4 separate regions of the Homo sapiens genome follow, and regions 2, 3 and 4 are each linked to region 1. The links are contacts of gene promoters, found by promoter capture Hi-C in blood cells and fetal thymus (Javierre and others, 2016). All regions are on one chromosome and are shown on one strand. The core of a region is centred on a gene start or on the middle of the fragment in contact, and the rest is flanking DNA. Distances in the headings are between cores, read along the strand shown.

What was found. The method cuts DNA at HindIII sites, captures the fragments that hold promoters and counts their contacts. A CHiCAGO score of 5 or more calls a contact.
Region 2: a fragment that was not itself captured here is called in contact with the fragment with the promoter of IFT81 in region 1 in 4 of 17 cell types (endothelial precursors, M1 macrophages, naive B cells and 1 more); the score reaches 7.7 in endothelial precursors.
Region 3: a fragment that was not itself captured here is called in contact with the fragment with the promoter of IFT81 in region 1 in 5 of 17 cell types (endothelial precursors, megakaryocytes, M1 macrophages and 2 more); the score reaches 11.0 in endothelial precursors.
Region 4: a contact is called between a fragment that was not itself captured here and the fragment with the promoter of IFT81 in region 1, in 3 of 17 cell types (endothelial precursors, M1 macrophages and erythroblasts). The highest score is 5.7, in endothelial precursors.

What each region holds. Positions count from the first base shown.
Region 1 is chr12:110,122,926-110,125,625 of GRCh38, reverse strand. It overlaps IFT81 (intraflagellar transport 81), which reads right to left and starts at 1,269. Exons shown (of 19, transcript NM_014055.4): 1 at 765-1,269. RefSeq lists a silencer at 1,186-1,455. The HindIII fragment of the contact is 3,777 bases long and covers 1-1,556 here.
Region 2 is chr12:110,285,165-110,287,864 of GRCh38, reverse strand. The region is part of intron 3 of ATP2A2 (ATPase sarcoplasmic/endoplasmic reticulum Ca2+ transporting 2); the gene reads right to left. Among named protein-coding and RNA genes, the nearest start is that of ATP2A2, 5.3 kb to the right of the region's middle. The HindIII fragment of the contact is 2,316 bases long and covers 263-2,578 here.
Region 3 is chr12:110,338,795-110,341,494 of GRCh38, reverse strand. It overlaps ATP2A2 (ATPase sarcoplasmic/endoplasmic reticulum Ca2+ transporting 2), which reads right to left. Exons shown (of 20, transcript NM_170665.4): 12 at 2,092-2,214; 13 at 1,774-1,992; 14 at 501-836. Among named protein-coding and RNA genes, the nearest start is that of ATP2A2, 59 kb to the right of the region's middle. RefSeq lists enhancers at 1-994, 2,402-2,501. The HindIII fragment of the contact is 188 bases long and covers 1,339-1,526 here.
Region 4 is chr12:110,266,441-110,269,140 of GRCh38, reverse strand. No RefSeq gene overlaps it. Among named protein-coding and RNA genes, the nearest start is that of ATP2A2, 13 kb to the left of the region's middle. RefSeq lists an enhancer at 1-41. The HindIII fragment of the contact is 5,355 bases long and covers 1-2,700 here.

The DNA of each region.
Region 1 (2,700 bases), core at 20-2,519:
GTCAGGAGTTCGAGGCCAGCCTGGCCAACATGGTGAAACCCGGTCTCTACTAAAAATACAAAAATTAGCCAGGTGTGGTGGCGGGCGCCGGTAGTCCCAGCTACTTGGGAGGCTGAGGCAGGAGAATTGCTTGAACCCGGGAGGCGGAGGTTGCAGTGAGCCGAGATCGCGCCACTGCACTCCAGCCTGGGGGACAGAGAGAGACTCCGTCTCAACAGAAAAAATAAAATAAAAAAGATAATTTCTCCACAATGATGAAAAATTACGCACAAATAATTATTATTGCTAAGAAATAAGTCAAAAGAGGATAGGAAGGATAACCACCATGGCTTATAATAAATCTGAGGTTTCCTTTAAGCTATAAAAGGAAAACCTTTACGTAAGTTTTTTTTTAAAATCCATATTGGAAGTGCAAGTTTTCCATTGTTTAAAGTATTTTAAGTAAAAGTCCACGTCATAACCTTTGCGTGCAGAAATATGTATTTCATTTTAAATGATTTAGAAATTATCTATAGGTCTACTCTTTTTTCCCTTAAAAAAAAATCTGGATAAACTAGTACAACGTTTCCAGGAAGGCAAAATAAACCAGTTGGGTTCCCCCCAAGTCGCCCACCAGCCTGCAAAAATGGTCACTCGATAAGGACAAAGATGTACTGAACAGGAAGGCTGTCTGTGCCCAGCGGGCTCTGCGCTCTAAAATTAGCAAAAGCAATTACTGTCCCTCTTCTAGCGCGAAGTCGCCGCGCTAATTCCCAAGCACTCACCCACAAACGAGTCGCAGGAGGCGGGGAACAATGAAAACCAGGACGTGCGTGTTCTCTGGCACAATTTGGGAGAGAAACCGTGCTGCCTGGGTCCCAGGCTGGCACGAGCATCGACCCGCAGCCTCCTGGGAGTACCAGAAATAGTGTCCCCCTCCCCGGGCTCGGGACAGGGGACAGGGGACCCCACACCCGACCGGGCCTCTAGCGGGGGCTGCCCTGGGCCCCTCGACAGTTCATCCCTCCAGGGAGCGGCCTGGATCCGCTCGAATCCCAGAAGGGGCCCGATTCCCCTATCCGGGGGCTTAACCGCGACGACCCCTTCCACTTGCGAGGTGCTGCATCAGGACCGAGAGAGGACGGGAGCTCTCTCCTATTTCGGGGTTCAGAGGAGCTTCCGACCGCGAGTTGGCGAGGTTACCTCAAATTCTCCTCACGAAACCGTTTCCCCACCCCCCAGGAGGCGCCCGGGCTCTAGACCGCTCCCAGAGTCGAGCTCCTTGGCAACGGTTGCTAGGCCGTAGAGTTACGTCACTTCCGGGCGAGCGGCCGCTCTCCCGCGCGCGCGCGCACGAGCTGGGGGGCGGGGCCGGGCCAGGGCGGGGAGGACGGGCGCGGGGCGGAGCGGACGGGGCGGGGCGGGGCGGAGCGGACGGGACGGGGCGGGACGGGGCGGGGCGGACGGGGCGGACGGGAGCCGGGCTTACTTGCAAAGCGGGCCCACGTGCTGAGCCACTGCAGACAGCCGAGGGCATTTGGGACTGTTACTCCGACCTAGACGCGCTACAATAAGCTTCCCGAAAGTCCTGCACTTCGCAGTTTACAAAATACTCTCTGCATGATTAACCTATGTTAAATGCGTGTGATGTTTCATTCATTCATTCATTCATGCATGCATGCATGCATTCATGCGCCAAACGTGGGTGATGATTTTTGTTTGTTTTTGAGGCAGGGCTGGGTGGTAGGGGGGTTGGGATGAGCAAGCATTTGGCCAGTGCTTCAAATTTAGGTTTTTGACATAAGTATCTCCAAATTAGGTTATGCATAGGAACAATTGTAGTGAGGCTCTGGCAGGATTAAAAGAAGACACATTCATCATAGAGATTTCAGCTTCTGTGTCACATTACTGGGCCACATTGCCTGTACTGGGAATTAAATTTTTTTAAACCCAATACGTTTTGAGTATGCTGAGAGCCTGAAAGGGGGTGTGGGAGAACTAAGTGTCCTAATGTTCCTTTGGCTTCTGAGTGGGCTCTCTTTAGGTGACTGCAGAAATAAATTAAATCCTCCTTGTGGTCTTCATGGAGTTCACATCCCACGCAGGACGCAGGGAGATCTTTGTGCCCAGTCACTGATGAGGTTTAAAAGTCTACTGGAATTTGCACTAGCTGGTTTGTGGGAGACCTTAGTTGGCAAATGGTATTTTGAACCAACCTCTATTAGACTAGAGACCACGATACTTAGTGATATCAGCTGGCAATGAAAGAAAGAGAAGGAAAAAAAATCAAATTATTGATACCTTGAAAACTTAGTTGCCTGCTCAAACAGCATAGGAGAAACCAACTATAGCTTTAGCATCAGACTTACCACAACAAAAAATAACAGATTACGTATTAGGCATTTCCTATATGCCCTGTACTGTACAGGCTGCTGGAAATGCAGAAGGGCAGGACTTACCTGGCCCCTGCCCTGATGGAGCTGACAGTCTAGTGCCGGCAGAGATTATTAAAGGGGCAACACCAATACAATTGAGATAAATGCTGTAACAAGAGAAGCCAATGATTAGGAGCCCAGATTAAGGGCCTCAAGTTTATTTGGGGAGGGTGGTGCCAAAGGGGCCATACCATCAGGAAAGTTTCTGTCAAATGGAGTGATGTTTAAGGATCAGTAAAAATTAGGCCTGGCACCGTGGCTCACGCCTGTAATCTCAGCACTTTGA
Region 2 (2,700 bases), core at 171-2,670, 160 kb before region 1:
GCAGGCGGATCACCTAAGGCCAGGAGCTGGAGACCAGCCTGGTCAACATGGAGAAACCCCGTCTCTACTAAAAATACAAAAAATTACCCGGGCGTGGTGGTGCATGCCTGTAATCCCAGCTACTCGGGAGGCTGAGGCAGGAGAATCACTTGAAGCTGGGAGGTGGAGGTTGCAGTGAGCCAAGATCGCACCACTGCACTCCAATCTGGGCGACAGAGCAGGACTCCGTCTCAAAAAAAAGACAGCGAAAAGGTAACAAGCTTCATGAACAGCAGCAAAGAAAAGTAAAAGAGAAGACCACTGCCCCATAGTTTTGGACATAAACAGTGTTTCTTCTTCCCTTTGCTTTGTGCTAAATACAATAATACCTGTCTTCTGGGACATACATTATCAAACAAGTTCAATGCTTCAAATGTGCCAGTATTATTCAAAGTAACCACTTGCTAATGAACACTCAACTACATTAAACTGTTAAAAATAGAGTAGGGATAGAGTATCTCCCAATTATTATCCACAAGATTAATCTCTGTACAGCACTGAAATACTGTACAACACTCTGTACTGCATTATACTTCTGATAAGTATACTAAAGCAAAAAAAAAATTTTTTTTTGAGACGGAGTCTCACTTTGTCACTCAGGCTGGAGTGCAGTGGCGCAATCTCGGCTCACTGCAACATCCGCCTCCCGGGTTCAAGCGATTCTCCTGCCTCAGCCTCCTGAGTAGCTGGGATTACAGGGACCCACCACCACGCCTGGCTAATTTTTGTATTTTTAGTACAGGTGGGGTTTCACCATGTTGGCCAGGCTGGTCTCGAACTCCTGACCTCAAATGATCCACCCACCTCGGCCTCTCAAAGTGCTGGGATTACAGGCATGAGCCACTCACTGCACCCGGCCAAATAAAGCAAATTTTAATCCAAGGTAAAAAGCACGTTCTGCTGTAAACTGGGAGACAGTCATGATATTGTGACTCAGATATCTATACACTGTGATAATAGGAAGAGCTCTTAGTATCATAAAAAGAAAACGAAAGAAAAAAGTGCTTAAAAAGATCATAAGCACATTTTGCTCCTAGTATTCTCAGAAACTTGCACTGTGCCTTTGGGCCCTCAAACAATTGCTCAATAAATGAAGAAATTTACATCAAGTTTTTTTTTTTTTTTAAATAAAGAGGAAATGGAAATTAAACATTTCGAGAATGATACAGAGAATTACCAATAAACGTTACGATAATTTCTGGGGGAGGACTTTCAGTCATTAATAAAACGGAAAAAAAAGCATGAATTAGAACTCGTTCCCTTCTGATCCAGATATAAAGCTATGTAAAAACATTCAATGCTTTCAGGCATGAGAAAACAATCTTTTTAAAAAGTACTCTATTAAATCCACCTTTCAAGTCATTATTTTAAGAAAAGCTCTGAATAAACTAGTTAAACCAATCAGTAATTTGCCCTTCTTATCCCATTTTTAAAATCAAAAATTAAAAGATACAGAAGAAAATTAAAATCACTACAAATCCAGTATCAAATGCTTTGAGTATTCTCTTCTGAGAAACTACAGTAAAAAGATCTCATGTATTTTCAGAAAATTCTACTGAAACAAACTCACCCAAGTTTTTGTGACATCAAAAGCACTAACTTAGGCCAGGCGCAGTGGTTCATGCCTGTAATCCCAGCACTTTGGGAGGCTGAGGCAGGTGATAACCTGAGGTCAGGAGTTCGAGACCAGCCTGGCCAACAAAGGTAAACCCCATCTCTACTAAAAATACAAAAATTAGCCGGGCGTGGTGGTGGACATCTGTAATCCCAGCTACTCAGGAGGCTGAGGCAGGAGAATCACTTGAACCCAGGAGGTGGAGGTTGCAGTGAGCCGAGATTGCACCACTGCGCTCCAGCCCGGGCAACAAGAGTGAGACTCCATCTACATTTAAAAAAAAAAAAAAAAAAAAGCACTAACTCAAGGGGGTCTAGTAGGAAGAAAAGAGACACACACATGCAAATGGTCAAATGTAACCTAAAGGTTGAGAAGTACCACAGTCTAGAAAGTTTTATTAGCATTTTAGGGTCAATCTAAGTAGCTGACATGGGAAACGACGGTGGAAGGTAGAGAAACCTATGCAAATTATTACCATATTAATTATGACTTTATGATTTAGACAGATGGGAGACCAACATGGCCCTAATGCCCACCTCCTTCAGATCTTTTCGCAAATGTCACCTTCCTCAAGAACTTTCCGGACCACCCAATTTGAAAACTGTTCCCCCTTTCACATACTCTGATATCCAAACCCCCTTGCTTTATTTTTCTCAGCAGTATTATCCTCCAGGTAAGGGTCTCTGTCTGTTTTATTCACTACTGTATCCCCAGTGTCTGTGACAGGTGCTCAATAAATATCTTAACAAAGCAGGAAAAGAGAAGAAAGGGCAGGCATCAGTTAAGCAACCATACGATGTGTTACATTTAGAACAAAGTTGGTAATCAAGAAGAGAATGAAAAGATAAAGTGAATGATAGAGGGGGGGTCTTCAGTGTCAAATTAAGCAATTTCTAATGTTCATATGCACTGGAAGATGAAGCTTATTTCTTTCAATCCAAGTGACCGTTTCAAAAAAACACTTTGGCCAATATTACAAATTAAACTAGATCCCTACAGGTCACAAGCATAGCTTCCTATTCTATGCCACAGCAAAATATTAACTA
Region 3 (2,700 bases), core at 183-2,682, 220 kb before region 1:
AGTTACCTCTGGGGGAGAGGAGAGTACACTTATAGTATGTTTCAAAACTAAGATTTTTTTTTAAAAGAGAAGAAAGTAAATTTAACATAATGTATCTGGGTGAAAATCAGGTGAGGGGAAGAATACTGGAAATGCTTCATCAATAGCCAGCTCTTAAAGAACTTAAAAGCAGGGTGATCCAAACAACTGACTGATTACATCCTCAATTTTCAGAAAACTTACAATAAAAACACGTCTCATTTAAAAAAGAGACTAGATCACCAGATTGTTCCTCTGGGACTGATCTGGAAGGCCCTTCTGGGTTTTAAACGACTCTAGGATCTTCCCTGCAAGTAGCACACAACATGCTAACCACTGATTCACCGAATTCTAGAGAAAAGACCCAAATCATGACAAATTCCAAATTAGGGAGCTATGACAAAAAAATTCAGTGGTCAAAATTAGAGGCTACTATGTGCTTGTGTAGCCTGAGTCACCTGTACATGTTCAAACATGCTCACCATAGCTGTAATCTCATCAAAAGACTGAAGAAATTCTACGATTTTAGACTTGTGGGAGGGTTCAACTCGAGCAAAACAGCGGGCGTTCAGGCAGGCGTCTCGCTGGGCGGAGGGGTTGAGTTCATCAAACTCCCGGCCTGTGAAAGCTTTTGACGTCACGTCCTCATCCTGCCCGAAGATGCCGATGCGGCGACAGATGGCCACAGCAGTGCCCTTGTTGTCCCCAGTGATCATGATGACCCGGATGCCTGCTTGCCGGCACAGCTTCACGGAGGAGGCCACCTCGATTCTCGGAGGATCCAGCATGCCCACGCAGCCAACGAAGGTCAGATTGGTCTAAAATAAGAGCATCACTTTAAATAAAAGTGGCAAGTTCTAGTTTTTGTCCCCTAGTTTGAAAAATGCCCAGTTAAACATTGAGACAGGTTTCTGCATTTTTTTTCTTTTTTTTTTTTTGAGGCGGAGTTTCGCTCTTGTTGCCCAGGCTGGAGTGCCATGGCGCAATCTCAGCTCACTGCGACCTCCGCCTCCCAGGTTCAAGAGACTCTTCTGCCTCAGCCTCCAGGGTAGCTGGGACTACAGGTATGCGCCACCACACCTGGCTAATTTTGTATTTTTAGTAGAGATGTGGTTTCTCCATGTTGGTCAGGCTGGTCTCAAACCCCCAACCCCAGGTGATCTGCCAGCCTCGGCCTCCCAAAGTGCTGAGATTACAGGCATTTGAGCCACCGTGCCTGGCGGTTTTTGCATTTTCTTATGAGAAAAAAAAATACCACTACACCCGTTATCAAACCATTCTTTAACTCTTGTGCTATTCTGAGCCCACAGTACCAAAGCTTCTTCATTTTGTTCATAGCTTTAGGATGTCACATCCTTGATATAAAAGAATTCTACTCTGAGTAGAAAAGTGGAAGTAATCTCCAACTTGGATCTTTTGACCTTCAGTAACTAATGAATATTCTAGAAATGTCACCAATTTAAAAAAAATCATGATTTAGATGAGAGGCAAAATGGGGTTTACAAGCTTAAGCTCATCTTGATTATTCTACTTTGAAAATATTCTACTTTGAAAATAACACTTTTATGAAATTATTAACTATGTATGTTTGAAGCAGCAAATTTTAAGGGTGACACAGCTGGCAGGCAGAAAAACAAATAACCACACCTCTTTCTTGGCAAAAGTGAGAACTGTTTGACCTTTTGCTTGAAGGAGTACTGTTTAAACACAATGAATCGTGCAGGGTGTGGACAAAGAAACTTTTCATTAGCTAACCTCATATTTAATAAAGTTGGCAGAGTCCTCAAGGTGCATTTCTTCTCTTCTCAGTGGGTTGTCATGAGTGGCCAGGGCCAGGCATCGCAGTGTGTCGCTGCCACTACCCCACTCTCGAATGACAGACATGATCTTCTGTTTGACTCCAGAGGTCATAGGAACCTTAGTACTTCCAACTCGAATGTGGGTGCACCTGTCAATGACACCTTCAGGAGCACCCTGGAAATGTTACAGATTTAGATAAACAATTTTGTTTTATTGGTTCACCGGGATCTTAACCCTGGCAAGAACATCTCAATTGCAATCTGCCATACTTGCCTTCACAAACATCTTGCTCATTGATGTCCTGCTTGGTTTATTTGGTGTACAGTAAACCGACATTGACTTTCTGTCACGTGAAAACTCTAGAGTGAATTCCTTTTTCATCAGCTGTTTAATGACCTACAAAGGGAACAAATATGGATACTACTGGGTGGCAATTTCTGAACTTTTTTACCTAACAAGCAGTAAGCACACCTATTACATGACAGATGCTAGGAATATAGCAATAAACAAAACAGACAGGTTTTTGCCCTCATGAAACTTGTCCCCTATTTTGGGAGAGACAGACTAAGATGCAAAAGTAACACAAGTGCTATAGAGAAAAAGGGAAGGGGGATAGAAAATTTGCATACATACATATGAACTGTTACATAAAGTGGCCAGAAGGCGGTGACATTTGAATAAAGATGGCCCCATGGGGCCTGAAAAGATGTGTGTGAACCCAGTGGGTGGTGGTGAAGACCCACCAGGCAGAGAACGGAAGTGCAACCTGGCAAGTCCTGGAATGGTAAAGGAGTGCCAACGTGGCTGGAATAGAGTTTACATGAGCAAAAGGTGAGGCAGGTAATGGCAGAGGATGGTAGAAGCAGGTCATTAAGACCTCAA
Region 4 (2,700 bases), core at 156-2,655, 140 kb before region 1:
CCCTTAAACTCGGGAGGCGGAGGTTGCAGTGAGCAGAGATCATGCCACTGCACTCCAGGCTGGGTGACAGAGACTCTGCCTCAAAAAAAAAAAAAAGGAAGGAAGGAGGCCGGGTGTGGTGGCTCACACCTGTAATCCCAGCACTTTGGGAGGCTGAGGTGGGCGGATCACTTGAGATCAGGACTTTGAGATGAGAGTGGCCAACATGGTGAAACCCTCTCTCTACTAAAAATACAAAAATTAGCTGGGTGTGGTGGCGCTCACCTGTAGTCCCAGTTTCTTGGGGGGCTGAGGCAGGAGAATTGCTTGAGCCCGGGAGGTGGAGGTGGCAATAAGCTGAGATTGCTCCACTGCACTCCAACCTGGGTGACACAACGAGACTCGGTCTCAAAAAATAAAAATAAATAAATAAATAAATCAAAAGAAGGAAGGGACAAAAAGGAAGACACCATTTAATAGACATGCATTTGCCATGCATGCAATGTGCTGGGACCTTTTCACATGTTGTCTTAGTGCATCCTTAGGACAAGCCTGTCTGGTACGTATCATTATCATTCCTATTTTTCCAGGTACTGAAAGTTGATTCTCAGAGAGGTTAAGTCACACAAATTAGAAATCACTATTCAATAAACATCTTTGGGAATAGAAGATTATTTGTAGGGAGAAGAATTAGCTTGGATCTATTTCTAACACCATGAAATGCAATCCGGCTGGGCGCTGTGGCTCATGCCTGTAATCCCAGAACTTTGGGAGGCTGAGGTGGGTGGATCACCTGAGGTCAGGAATTTGAGACCAGCCTGGCCAACATAGTGAAGCCCCGTCTCTACTAAAAATACAAAAAACTAGCCAGGCAGGCATGGTGGCAGGTGCCTGTAGAGGCAGGAGAATCGCTTGAACCCGGGAGGCAGAGGTTGCAGTGAGCTGAGATCGCACCACTGCTTGGGCAGCAAGAGTGAAACTCTGTCTCAAAAAAGAAAAGAAAAGAAATGCAATACATTTCATATTGGAAAGAGTGTTAAACATTTTTTTAAAAGTCTGTAAAACAATGAAAAGAAGCAACAAAACTATATAGGTGTGGAGGTCAAAGTGGGTGGATCACTTGAGGTCAGGAGTTTGAGACCAGCCTGGCCAACATGGCGAAACCCTGTCTCTACTAAAAATACAAAAATTAGCGGGGCTTGGTGGCACATGCCCATAATCCCAGCTACTTGGGAGGCTGAGGCAGGAGAATCATTTGAACCCGGGAGGTGGAGGTTGCAGTGAGCCGAGATCACGGCACTACACTCCAGCCTGGGTGACAGAGCAAGACTCCATTTCAAAAAAAAAAAAAAGTAGATAGGTGAGGAGGGGAGAGAAAACTTCTAAGTACTTCAGGTATAGAAACACTTTAAATTTGCATAATAAAATGTTATAAAACAAATGGAGGGAATGTATGCATGGGGTTTTAGAAAGAAACTAGACGACTCCTGGAAAACCTTTTAATGCTAGGAATCTGTGATTCTCTGACTGCGCAGAAGCACTCAGAGACCCACAAAGATTTTTATTATAGCAAATATCTCCTCAACTGGTTCTTGGACCAGTTTAATTTCCTGATCCCAGATCTGTCCCTACTCCCCGCTGTGGCAAGGGGAGAGAGGATCATTCTGAGTCACGAAATGCAGCCCTGTCCAGGGTGGGGAAGGGACAGCTGCTTAATTTGCAGCACATGTTGCTGAGAAAAGTGGTAAAGCAGAGTTCCCCTTCCACTGAAAGCTGCACAAGGAGGCTTCCGCCAGCTGAATGCAGTGACCTGAGCTGGAATTCTGCCAGGACAGTGGGATTAACTTCCCAAGTGCTGGCCAAAAAGGGCCCCGGGATTTTTATTTTTATTCATTTTCCATTACAACTGCACAGCAACGCAAACAAGCCCCACAACAATGTGAGCCACCAAGAGTCATTTTCCTTTGCTGGGTGCCATGTCAATACCACACATCTTGCTGACCTCATTTTACCGAAGTTTTAAGATGGGGAGCTTGATTACTTACTTCCCTGCTGACGATAATGGGAGAAAGGCATTGTGATTGCCCAATTAAAGCTGTATGCTTTAAAGGCGAAATAAAGCAACACATGCACACGGAGTCCACTGTACCCAGGGATAATAATTTAATGGGAAGTCAGTGGAAATCCAAGAAAATATAGGTCTAGCTCCCCAAGTCCCCTAAGATCAGGGGCCCAGAGGCACAGGGATTGGAGGAGATCTGACCACAGGCAATTAAATGTCAATTAAAAAGGGGGTCCAGTGGGGAGGGAAGGTAAAGGGCTTAGTGCATTAGAACCAGGCTCCAGGCTAATGAGACTCCTCAGAGAGGGCTTTGCACATGTTAGACAGGGGGTGTGTTTTAACTTGTGATTTGCCCTGTTTTTCCAGTCACATGATTCAATATTATCACAGTCTTCAAAACATCACCTTTTGGAAAACGTGGAGAGACAAATTCAGAGAATTGCAGGCACCAGGTAATACTGTATGCTCTTAGGCAAGCTACTTAATCTGTGTCCCTATTTCCTCAATTATAAAGAGTGGATAATTGAATCTACCTCATGTAGTTTTCGTGTGAGTTACATGAGAGACTGTGCATGTGATGTGCCTTGCACGTGGCTGGCAGCACTAGTAGAGAGACATTGCAGGCACCTTCATCTTAGGCTGATCTTAAGGCCCAGCCC